Regions from separate parts of the Homo sapiens genome. Here region 1 is linked to region 2. The links are contacts of gene promoters, found by promoter capture Hi-C in blood cells and fetal thymus (Javierre and others, 2016). All regions are on one chromosome and are shown on one strand. The core of a region is centred on a gene start or on the middle of the fragment in contact, and the rest is flanking DNA. Distances in the headings are between cores, read along the strand shown.

Evidence for each region. The method cuts DNA at HindIII sites, captures the fragments that hold promoters and counts their contacts. A CHiCAGO score of 5 or more calls a contact.
Region 1: a fragment that was not itself captured here is called in contact with the fragment with the promoter of KRT32 in region 2 in 4 of 17 cell types (total CD4 T cells, naive B cells, naive CD8 T cells and 1 more); the score reaches 5.7 in total CD4 T cells.

Annotation. Positions count from the first base shown.
Region 1 is chr17:40,977,025-40,982,822 of GRCh38, forward strand. It overlaps KRT40 (keratin 40), which reads right to left. Exons shown (of 7, transcript NM_001389244.1): 3 at 5,283-5,439; 4 at 3,966-4,127; 5 at 3,761-3,886; 6 at 1,780-2,000; 7 at 691-1,272. The coding sequence ends at 1,173. It overlaps LOC107985072 (a long non-coding RNA gene), which reads left to right. Exons shown (of 4, transcript XR_001752886.2): 3 at 3,425-3,583; 4 at 5,304-5,798. Among named protein-coding and RNA genes, the nearest start is that of KRT40, 4.4 kb to the right of the region's middle. RefSeq lists an enhancer at 2,982-3,583. The HindIII fragment of the contact is 2,975 bases long and covers 2,603-5,577 here.
Region 2 is chr17:41,466,046-41,471,804 of GRCh38, forward strand. KRT32 (keratin 32) reads right to left here and starts at 1,341. Exons shown (of 7, transcript NM_002278.3): 1 at 813-1,341; 2 at 49-131. The coding sequence starts at 1,280. It also overlaps the pseudogene RNU2-32P. The HindIII fragment of the contact is 3,316 bases long and covers 335-3,650 here.

The DNA.
Region 1 (5,798 bases), core at 2,840-5,339, 490 kb before region 2:
TGGAAGTTCTCTACCTTGTTTTTTAAATATATGAGAATAATTATTCTTATAACCTAAATGTCCAATAACAGATCAATGTACCTTATGGTACATTATGCAACCAGTAAAATGATGGCTACAGGCTGGGTGCAGTGGCTCACACCTGTAATCCCAGCACTTTGGGAGGCTGAAGCTGGTGGATCACAAGGTCAAGAGATTGAGACCATCCTGGCTAACACGGTGAAACCCTGTCTCTACTAAAAAAAAAAAAAAATTAGCCTGGTGTGGTGGCAGACACCTGTAGTCCCAGCTACTTGGGAGGCTGAGGCAGGAGAATCGCTTGAACCCAGGAGGCAGAGGTTGCAGTGAGCCCAGATAGTGTGACTACACTCCAGCCTGGGTGACACAGCAAGACTCTGTCTCAAAAAAAAAATAAAAAATAAAAAAAGTGATGGCTACAATACAATCTTATGTTTTTATTAGAATTAAAAATGCTTAGATGACATAAATGAAAGAAAGTTTACACAAGTGTGTGCATATGTTAGTATGATTATAGCTGTGTGGAAAAATCTATTATAAGAAAGAAAACTGGAAGAAAGTACCCCAAAATATTGACTATGGCTGTTTGGAAGATGAAATCATAAGTGACCTTTTCCCTTTTAATGAGCCAAATTTAAAAAAAGAGAATCTAGTACTTTTATAATCAAAAAATACATTTTATCATATTTTATTCCTAATATTTTTCCTCAGAAAGATACACACAACTATTTTCTAAGATATATGACATTTCTCATGGGTTCATTAATTTATTTGTATTTGAGGAGTTAAAAAATATTTTCAGCCTGGGTTTATGTACATTGAAACTATGGTTATGGGTTTAGATGATTTCCTTGCCATAAAATGAATATTCTATCAACAGTAATCAGCCATAGAGCTATATTTACCACGCTAAAGGAATAAAACACGTTTTATTTGGAGATGAGCAAGAATGCTTTATGGGCTTCCAGTATACCACAAATAAGCCGGAAGGAGAGGAAATAGTAAAGCAGAAAGACTGAGGATACCTGGAGGGCAATTCCAGGATATGAGAGCCTCCTGGATTTGTGCTTCCGGTTTGGATGTCCCTGGTTGAAGCCCCATCTCCTTTCTAGGATGCTGCTGGCTTTGATTCCTCTACCTGCTGTCCTTAACATTCACAAGCAGCAGTTTTCAACAGTGCAGATGACATAGGCTGAGCATGGCTCACAAGTGTTGCTCGAGGTGCATGTGGTCGAACATGGGCTACAGGAAAGCCTGGGGAAAAATCGATTTTCAACCAAGATTAACAAGGGAATGTTGATAAAATGGCAACTCAGAAAAACCGTGTCAAAATTTGCCCTACAAATTATGTTCTGAAAAAAACTCTGCACAATAGCATTGACTGAAGCCTGTTTCTTCTCTGCACCCAGAATTGCCACTTCATGTTCACTGTAGCAGTGGCAGTTGAATAGTATTTTATATTTTTTCTTGATTTTGCAAATGTTATCTTAGGCCTATTCCTGATTTTCCTTTAGTGGAAAACAGGAACAAAGGGAGATGCCAGCATGAAATGTTACACTAATAATTAATCTGCCTTTAGAATATTTTAAAAATATCTCTAGTGTCATGTTCTTAACCTCAGCCACTTTTCAGCACTTTTTTAAGAAGATCCCTAAACACACTGGGGAGGTCTGAACTTGTCCAGACTTTGGGGAAACAGGATTCTTTTACATCAGCCTCTTTGTGACTCTGGGGGATTTCATGAGTAACTGTGGAACTTGCCTGCTGTCCTCGCTGTCCAGCAGGCCCCAGTACGTGTTGATCTCACCCTCCAGCCGGGCCTTCACGTCCAGGAGCACCTGGTACTCCTGGTTCTGTCGCTCCAGGTCGCAGCGGATCTCGGCCAGCTGGTTCTCCAGGTTATCGATCAGACACTGAATTTGGGCCAGCTGGGAGCTGTACTGGGCCTCGGTTTCTGCCACGGTGCATTCCAGAGATTCTGTCTGCGGGAGGAAACATTGTCCAAAGGACCATGAAGTGCAGTCTCTCGGGCCAGAGTGCCTACTTTCAAATTCCTGCTTACCCTTTTCTAGCTATGTGACCACTGGCAAATTATTTAGCTTCTGTGAGTCTCAGTTTTATTCTCTGTATAGTGGAGAATACAAAGTATCTGTTTCATTAGACGGTTGTGAAGATTAAGAGTTAATATGCGGGCTGGGCGCGGTGGCTCAGGCCTGTAATCCCAGCACTTTGGGAGGCCGAGGCGGGCGGATCACAAGGTCAGAAGATCGAGACCATCCTGGCTAACACGGTGAAACCCCGTCTCTACTAAAAATATAAAAAATTAGCTGGGTACGGTGGTGGACGCCTGTAGTCCCAGCTACTCAGGAGAATGGTGTGAACCCGGGAGGCAAAGCTTGCAGTAAGTCAAGATCATGCCATTGCACTCCAGCCTGGGCGACAGAGGGAGACTCCGTCCAAAAAAAAAAAAAAAGAGTTAATGTGCGTAAAGCATTTAGAACAGTGCCAGCCATACTGCCACTGTTCTACGTGTCAACTATCACTACCACCACTATGACTACAGCAATACATGACATATTTGTGAAGCTTAAGGACTATCCACAACATATGAGAGGAAAGATTGAGTTTGGGCTCTTGGCAGGGAGGGGTAGTATAGTGCTATTAAGAGAAGAGGCTCTGGATACCAGAGGCTGGGACTGGCATATGTGTGGTAAGGGGATGAAGAGAGGTTGGTTAATGGGTGCAAACATACAGTTAGACAGAAAGAATATGTTTTCATGTTGGACAGCAGAGAAGTGTGACTACAGTTAACAACAATACACTGTGCATTTCAAAATAGCTAGATGGGAGGACTTGAAATGCTCCCAACACATAGAAATGATAAATACTTGAGGTGATGGATGCTCTAAATATCCTGACTTGATCATTACACATTCTATGCATGTAACAAAATATCACATCTACGTAAAAAAAATTTACGCATATTATATATCAATAAAAATAAATTTAAAAAGAGAGAGAGAAGAGACTCTGGGATTCAACTGGCTGAACTCAGCTTCCAAGTTTGCCTCTTAGAATTGCATCCTTTGCAAGTTACTTAATCTGAGTCTCAGTTTTCCTTATCTGTGTCATGGGATAAAGGTATCTATCCGGTAAAGTTACTGTGAGCCTTAAATCAGCATAGTGCCTCTCACAGGATGAATGCTCAGCTATTGTTCTTCTAGGTGTTCTCCGCAGGGCCTAATGACATGCACACAGTGGTGCTTGACCAGAACTGGTTCATGTCATCTTGAACGCATGGTGTTCCTGTTGCTTGAGTGGGGGGTGGTGCAGTGAAGGATAAGGTTGAAGTGTAGATCCTGGGAAACTGTAGGATGAAATGTTTGAAAATGATTCTTTGTTTTAGATATAACAGTGAGCCTGGAAAACTGGCCTGAATCAAATGAGAATTAAAACCTGCCAGAATGCTTAAGCGACCATGGCCCGGAGGTTTCTCTCCAGCTCTGCTTCTCCCTCCCTGTCTCTGGAGGCTGCTGCAGCATCAGACTCAAGCCCAGGAGTGAAGGTAAGGCATCTTAGAGGACAAGCTGTGGACCTGTCACTTCTGCTTCTATTAATAGCTGGGTAAACGGCAGTACTCGGGAAAGGCAAGGAAATGTGATCCTCGGATATGGAAGAGGGCTTAACATCTCAGGGCCTGACTTATCAGTGACACAACGGACACTGCCTTTGCCTCACGCACCAGGCTTTGCTGTGCTTGGAGCTCAATTTCCAGAGCACTGGCTGTGCGTTTCAGTTCCAAGATCTCCATCTGGCAGCCCTGCAGCTGCTCCGCGCTGGACAGTTGCTGCTGATTCAGCTCTTCTGTCTGAAACACAGACACCATTAGAGAATTCAAAAAAGGCAGAAGTCTGTAAGCCTGACATTTTTTCAATCTGGGTACTGACCTGAACAGCCAACCATTCTTCAGCTTCTCTGCGATTGTTGGCAAGCACCGTTTCACACTGACAGCGCATCTCATCCAGGACCCTGTTGAGGTCAAGGGTGGGGGCAGTGTCCAGCTCCACACTGAGGCGGTCGCCAAGCTGTTCACGAAGCAAGTTGACTTCCTGAAAGTGGGATGGTGTAAAGAATGTCACAGAATGGTGGGGAAAAATCCATTTGACATCCAATGGCATTCTACTTCTGTTTTTTGGAGCAGTGGGTAAAAGTGTGAGATTTTGATTCAGATTGCCTGGGCTGAATCTCTTTTCACCACTTAGAAGGGCCTCAGTTTCTTCGTCTGTAAAATGGACATAATAATTGGACATTTTTCCAGAAAGTTATTGTGAGATCTAGAAGAGTCAATCTACACATAATTAACTTATAAAAGTTAATTATGACACATAGTAAGGTGTCAATAAATGTTAGCTATGATTGTCATCAACAAACGTTCAAAGAGCAAATGTACTTTGTTACATCATTCAGCTTTTCATTTTCTAGCTTTATCAATATATCAGTGGCTGTATATTTTATGATTTTTAGAAGTTTATAAATGCGGAATATTTAAAAACACTGGTCCAGATAGTGCACAGTCTTTATCCCTTTTTTGAAATGGACTTCACAGTCTGTTCCTCAGCCTGATTTTCATACCCTGTGGACTGGAGCTAGGGGTGGCATAAAGCCTCCAAAGGAAGCCATTTGTGAAGTTACCTCCTCCACAAAGGCAAGGGCAGGAGAAGAGTTTGATTCCTTCCTCTGGCGCTGTCTAGGGGTTATTTCACACCTTAAATCAGAGACACACTGGAATGATCAGGTTGAATAGTAATAATGCCTCGAGTAGTTTTTGTTTGTTTGTTTGTTTGTTTGTTTTTTGAGATGGAGTCTCGCCCTGTCACCCAGGCTGGAGTGCAGTGGTAAGATCTCGGCTCACTGCAACCTCCGCCTCCTGAGTTCAAGTGATTCTCCTGCCTCAGCCTCCCGAGTAGCTAGGACTACAGGCGCCTGCCACCATGCCCAGCTAATTTTTGTATTTTTAGTAGAGATGAGGTTTCATCATATTGGTCAGGCTGGTCTCGAACTCCTGACCTTGTGATCCTCCTGCCTCAGCCTCCCAAAGTGCTTGGATTACAGGTGTGAGCCACCATGCCTGGCCCTGCCTCAAGTAGTTTTATTCCAGCTTAAACAACATCTGCCCAAATTCGATTTACAAACATCAACAGATCATCTGTCAATGTAAGTACGTTACTCTCGGAGTCCTTCAGCGGAGTTGCCACTTTCCTTACCTCTTCATGGTTTTTCTTAAGGCAAAGGAGATCTTCCTTCAGAGACTCCACATGGGCCTCCAGATCAGATTTGCACAGGGTCAGTTCCTCCAGGATCCCATGCAGGCTGCTGATGTCAGCCTCTAACAGCTGGCGAAGGGACAGTTCACTCTCGTACCTTTCACAGCAAAAGAGAAATCCAACGCTTACTTTGCTGAACGCTGTGCAAAGTGTGGGGATACATGGAGGATCGACACACGGACTTCAGGAAGCCATGTGCATAATTTCTCTTAATTCCTAAGTAATGATAAATTCAAGCTTTTAAAACATTCTTAACTTTAAAATATTATATAGAGAATATTTGTGTGTGTGTGTGTGTGTGAGAGAGAGAGATTGAGAGAGAGAGAGCCATAAGTTATTTTCAAATTAAAATTAAAGCCGGGCGTGGTGGCTCATGCCTGTAATCCCAGCACTTTGGGAGGCCAAGGCGGGCAGATCACCTGAGGTCAGGAGTTCGAGACCAACCTGGCCCACATG
Region 2 (5,759 bases), core at 91-2,590:
CCTATGAGGACAGGTCCTCCCCAGCTCCAGCCCCCCGACTGAACTCACTTGGCCCTGAAGTCATCGGCAGCCAGTTTGGCATTATCAATGTTCACAACCATCCTGGCATTCTCTGCCTTGGTACACAGAATCTGTAGGCCAAGGCACATGGAGAGGGTTAGTTCAGGATGAGACGAAGCAAGAAGAACCCAAATGAAGAGAAGACAGCAGCAAAGGTAGGATCCAGCAGCCCTGCAGCCATCCCTGCAGAAGGTCCTCTTCCCTGGAACTCTGGGAGATATTTAGCGAATTGCTAGTCCTTGGAGAACTTGAGATGTATTTTTTAAGAACCTGAAGCTTCGTAAATTCAAATTCCCCATTTTGGATGTGCCAAGCAATGTGGAAGGGAAGAATCTCATGTCTGAAGTCACTCATGTGACAGTTAGAAGGGTCTTTGACATTTACTGAAAACTTACCGTGGACCAGGGGCTGTTCCAAGCACTTGACCTGCATCATCTCATCAAATCCTTTTGACAACCCCATTAGATAACGACCATTATTATCCCTGTTTTACAGATGAGAAAACTGAGGCCTGGGGAAGGGATGGGACCCCCAAAGTCATGCAATGAGGCAATGGTAGAACTGAGACTAGATCCCAGATCTCTCCACATGAAAGCCTCAGGCTGAGTGCTCAAATTATAAAATAACCCTATGCCCTAGGGAAGTCTCTTTGTCCTGAACATAGCTTAATAAGCTAACGAGATTCCAATCTGGAATGCCAGCTAGTCCAGTTCCCTTCCCAGAGAGCCTATTCACCTCACCGCTGCCCTCACCTTCTGCTGGAGCTCCTCAATGGTCCTGAAATGAGACTGGTAGTCAGGAGTCATGGTGAGCACCTGGGAGTGAGAGGCCTCTTGGATCCTGCTCTCCAGCTCCGCATTCTCCTGCTCCAGCTGCCGCACCCTCGTCAGGTAGCTGGCCAGGCGGTCGTTAAGGAACTGCATGGTTTCCTTCTCATTGCCATTGAAGGCCCCTTCGCTGTACCAGCTGCCGGGGCCCATGGAGCCGGAGATGCCACTGGCTGCCTGGCAGGAACTGGATAGATAGGTTTTGGAGAGGCAGCTGGCTGGCCGGAAGGTGGTGGGCAGGCAGACCGAAGGCAGGCATGCCATGGGCTGGCAGACATAGCCCAGGCACAGCTCAGGCCGGCAGTTCACGCCGCTGGAACAGACCGAGGCAGGCCGGGGGCAGCTCTTGAGAGAGGCTTGCAAGTTGTTGGTGACACAGCAGGAGGATGTCATGTTGGAGAGGCCCTTTCTCCTCAGCCACAGCTACCTGGATGTCTACAGACCCCATGCCGCCCGGGCCATTTTATGCCCTTGCAGTGAGGGGGCTCATGATAGAAATTCATCATTGGGTGGTGTTGATGTTCACACCCAGCCCCAGAGGAAGCTGCTAATTAATTTGTAATTTGGTTTCCAATAAAAGAGGCCAAACTTATCATTTGGCTAAAGCAGGAGTCTGGGTTCCTGTCATTGATCACCATGAGAGAGCTTCAGGACACATCTTCAAAGGGTCAGCCGCATGCCTGGGCCCTCATTACTAGGGCAGGCCCTCCAGGAGACTGCCACAACCCAGCCTGTGCCTCCACTGGCTTTGCCCACTGCACCCCCGCCTGCTCTAGCCCTGAGAAGCCTGCAGGTCTGTGCAGCAGTGGCTGCCTCTTTTAATGAAAGCATTCCCCATGGGAAGAGGCCTGGCTATTTAACAAGGAAATGTGTGGGTGGTAGAAACTGCTCCGATGCTGGCAGCGGCATAAATCCAGCAGAAAGGAACAGGAACCTCAGAGGCTTCCTAACAGACATCATCTTCCTGCCAAGGGGAAGAAAATAATATCAGTGGGGAGAGAATGAACTCAAGACATAGGCAGCATCACTTCTCAGCCTTTTGGCTAAGATCAAGTGTGGTATCTGTTCTTATCGTCTTAATATCTGATACGTCCTCCATCTGAGGACAACATATTAAATGGATTTTGGGAGCAGGGAGATGGAATAAGAGCTTGCTCTGTTCACTCTACATGTTGACCTGGTATTGCAGTACCTCCAGGAATGCTGCACCCCTTCAAAAGGCAAAAAAAAAAAAAAAAAAAAGACCCAAACAGAAGCCTAAGAATCAGGTACATCTTTCCAGTTGGTCTCTTCCTCTTGGAAAAGTCCATATCATGAACATCTCCAGGTGGCAGCTGCTCTGTCTTGACCCCCTCTGGACCATCCATTCAATTATCACTGCACCATATACACAATTGTCAAGTGCTCAATAATTGTTTGTTGAACAGACTGAGAATAGTTGGAACAGGTTCTACTTTTACTTTCTGTTGTGGCAGATGGGGAAGGCTCACTTCAGGATCTCAGACTATGGAAGCAGTGTGAATCCACTCCCTTGGGAAAGGATGTTCTATAGCCCTGGAATGAGCTAAGCCAGGAGACAGGGAGCATATTTGCCCAACTATAGAAGCCCTGGGCATTCACTTAAGAAGGCAACATGCTAGAGCAGTGGTTTTCAGTCCTGGCTGCAAAAGCTGTGAGCTTCACATTTAGTATGTGTGTGCTATATAGCCACTTTTTTATTCAGTAATCTTCTTGATATAATTTTGGGGTATAAGTACTTGCCTTATGTTTCACATATTCCCAGAAATGTCAGTACAAGAACAGGAAAGGGAAAATGCCACCCAGCTCATTCATTGCATAAGAAAAGGAGAGCGTAGATATACTGCCTCTGACTTGCCATTTGGCCTTGGGAAAGTAATTTTGTCTCTCCAGACCTCAGTTTCTTCATGCCAATCGAGGGGGTCAGATCAAATACTCTCACAATTTGATTCTCTGCAACAACTACAAATTCCAGTACCTTGTCTGGATTACCTATTTAGAGAAGATTATAGCATCAGATGGAAGGAGGTGTGATGGCAATACCAACTACAAGGGATGAGACTCATCAGGCCACCCTTCAGAATCATAGCCAGCACTTGTGGAATGTATACAAATACCAGGCATGGTGCTGAGTGCTTGGCATTAATTTGCCCATTTAATCCTCTCACCCAAAAACTATAATTATTATAATAAGGTGTTATCAGTCACTCTCAGCATCAACCTGACTCAGGAACATGTTAGAAATGTGAGTTTTCACCCTAGAAGAAAGTCTAGGCAATACCATTCAGGACATAGGCATGGGCAAAGACTTCATGACTAAAACAGCAAAAGCAATTGCAACAAAAGCCAAAGTTGACAAATGGGATCTAATTCAACTAAAGAGCTTCTGCACAGCAAAAGAAACTGTTATCAGAGTCAGCAGGCAACCTATAGAATTGGAGAAAATTTTTGCAATCTACCCATCTGACAAAGGTCTAATATCCAGAATCTACAAGGAGCTTAAACAAATTTACAAGAAAATAACAAACAACCCCATCAAAAAGTGGGCAAAGGATATGAACAGGCACTTCTCAAAAGAAGACATTTATGTGGCCAAGAAACATATGAAAAAAAGCTCATCATCACTGGTCATTAGAGAAATGCAAATCAAAACCACAATGAGATACCATCTCATGCCAGTTAGAATGGTGATCATTAACAAGTCTGGTAACAACAGATGCTGGCAAGGCTGTGGAGAAATGGGAAAGCTTTTACACTGTTGGTGGGAGTGTAAATTAGTTCAACCATTGTGGAAGACAGCATGGTGATTCCTCAATGATCTAAAACCAGAAATACCATTTGACCCAGCAATCCCATTACTGGGTATATACCCAAAGGATTATAAATCTTTCTACTATAAAGACACATGCACAAGTATGTTTATTGCAGCACTATTTACAATAGCAAAGACTTGGAACCAACCCAAATGCCCATCAATGACAGACTGGATAAAGAAAATGTGGCACATATATACCATGAAATACTATGCAGCCATAAAAAAGAATGAGTTCGTGTCTTTTGCAGGGACATGGATGAAGCTGGAAACCATCATTCTTAGCAAACCAACACAGGAACAGAAAACCGAACACCACATGTTCTCACTCATAAGTGGGAGTTGAACAATGAGAACACATGGACACAGGGAGGGGAACATCACACACCAGGGCCTGTCGGGGGATGGGGGGCAAGGGGAGAGAGAGCATTAGAACAAATACCTAATGCATGCGGGGCTTAAAACCTAGATGATGGGTTGATAGGTGCAGCAAACCACCATGGCACATGTATACCTATGCAACAAACCTGCACATTCTGCAAATGCATCCCAGAACTTAAAGTAAAATTTTTAAAAAAAAGAGTGTGATGTTCCCCTTCCTGTGTCCATGTGTTCTCATTTGTTGTGGGGTGGGGGGACGGGGGAGAGATAGCATTGGGAGATATACCTAATGCTAGATGACGAGTTAGTGGGTGCAGCACACCAGCATGGCACATGTATACATATGTAACTAACCTGCACATTGTGCACATGTACCCTAAAACTTAAAGTATAATAACAATAAAGAAAGAAAGAAGGCATAGATGTTGCAGTTTTTAAATATTTGCTATTTAATGTTGTTTTATTTAAACAATGTAGATACACTGCTTTGATAAAAATAAAAATAAAATGTAAAAAAAAAAGAAATGCAGTTTTTCAGGCTCATCCCAGACTGGCTGAATCAGAAACTCTGAGGCTGGGGCTGGGATGCAGCAGCCTGTGTTTAGCATGTCCTTCAGGTGGTTTGGAGACCCACTGAGATAGAGGAAGATACAGGCATACCTCAGAGATAGTGCATGTTCAGTTCTAGACCACCACAATAAAGCAAATGTAACCATAAAGTGAGTCACACAAACTTTTTGGTTTTTCTGTGTATGTAAACATTATATTTACACTATACTATAGTCTATTAAGTGTACCATAGCATTATGGCCTAAAAACAATGTATATAACTTAATTTTAAAAATGCTTTATTGCTAAAAATGCTAAGGATCATCTGAGCCTTCAGCAAGTTATAATCTTTTTGCTGGTGGAAGGTCTTGCCTCAATGTTGATGGCTGAGGACTGATCAGGGTGATGATTGCTGCAAGTTAGTGTGGCTGTGGCAATTTCTGAAAATGAGACATCAGTGAAGTTTGCCGCATCAGTTGACTCTTCCTTTCATGAAAGATTTCCCTGTAGCATGTGATGCTGTTTGATAGCATTTTAACAGTAGAAATTCTTTCAAAACTAGGGTCAGTCCTCTCAAACCCTGCCACTGCCTTATTAACTAAATTGATGTAGTATTCCAAATCCTTTGTTGCCATTTCAGTGATGTTCACAGCATCTTCACCAGGAGTAGTTTCCATCTCAAGAAACCACTTTCTTTGTTCATGAATAAGAAGCAGTTCCTCATCCGTTCGTTTTGCCATAACATGGCAACAATTCAGTCACATCTTCAGGCTCCAATTCTAATTTTAATTCTCTTGCTGTTTCCAACACATCTATAGTTACTTCCTCTGCTGAAGTCTTAAGCCCCTCAACATCATACATGAGAGTTGGAATCAACTTCTTCCAAACTCCTGTTAATGTTGATATTTTGACCTCCTCTCTTGAATCACAAATATTGACATATAGAATAGTGAATCCTCTTCAGAAGGTTTTCAATTTACTTTGCCCAGATCCATCAGAGGAATCACTCTGTATGGCAGCTATAGCCTTATGAAATATATTTCTTAGGTAATAAGACTTGAAAGTCAAAATTAGTTTTTGATCCATGGGCTGTGGAATGGATGTTGTGTTGG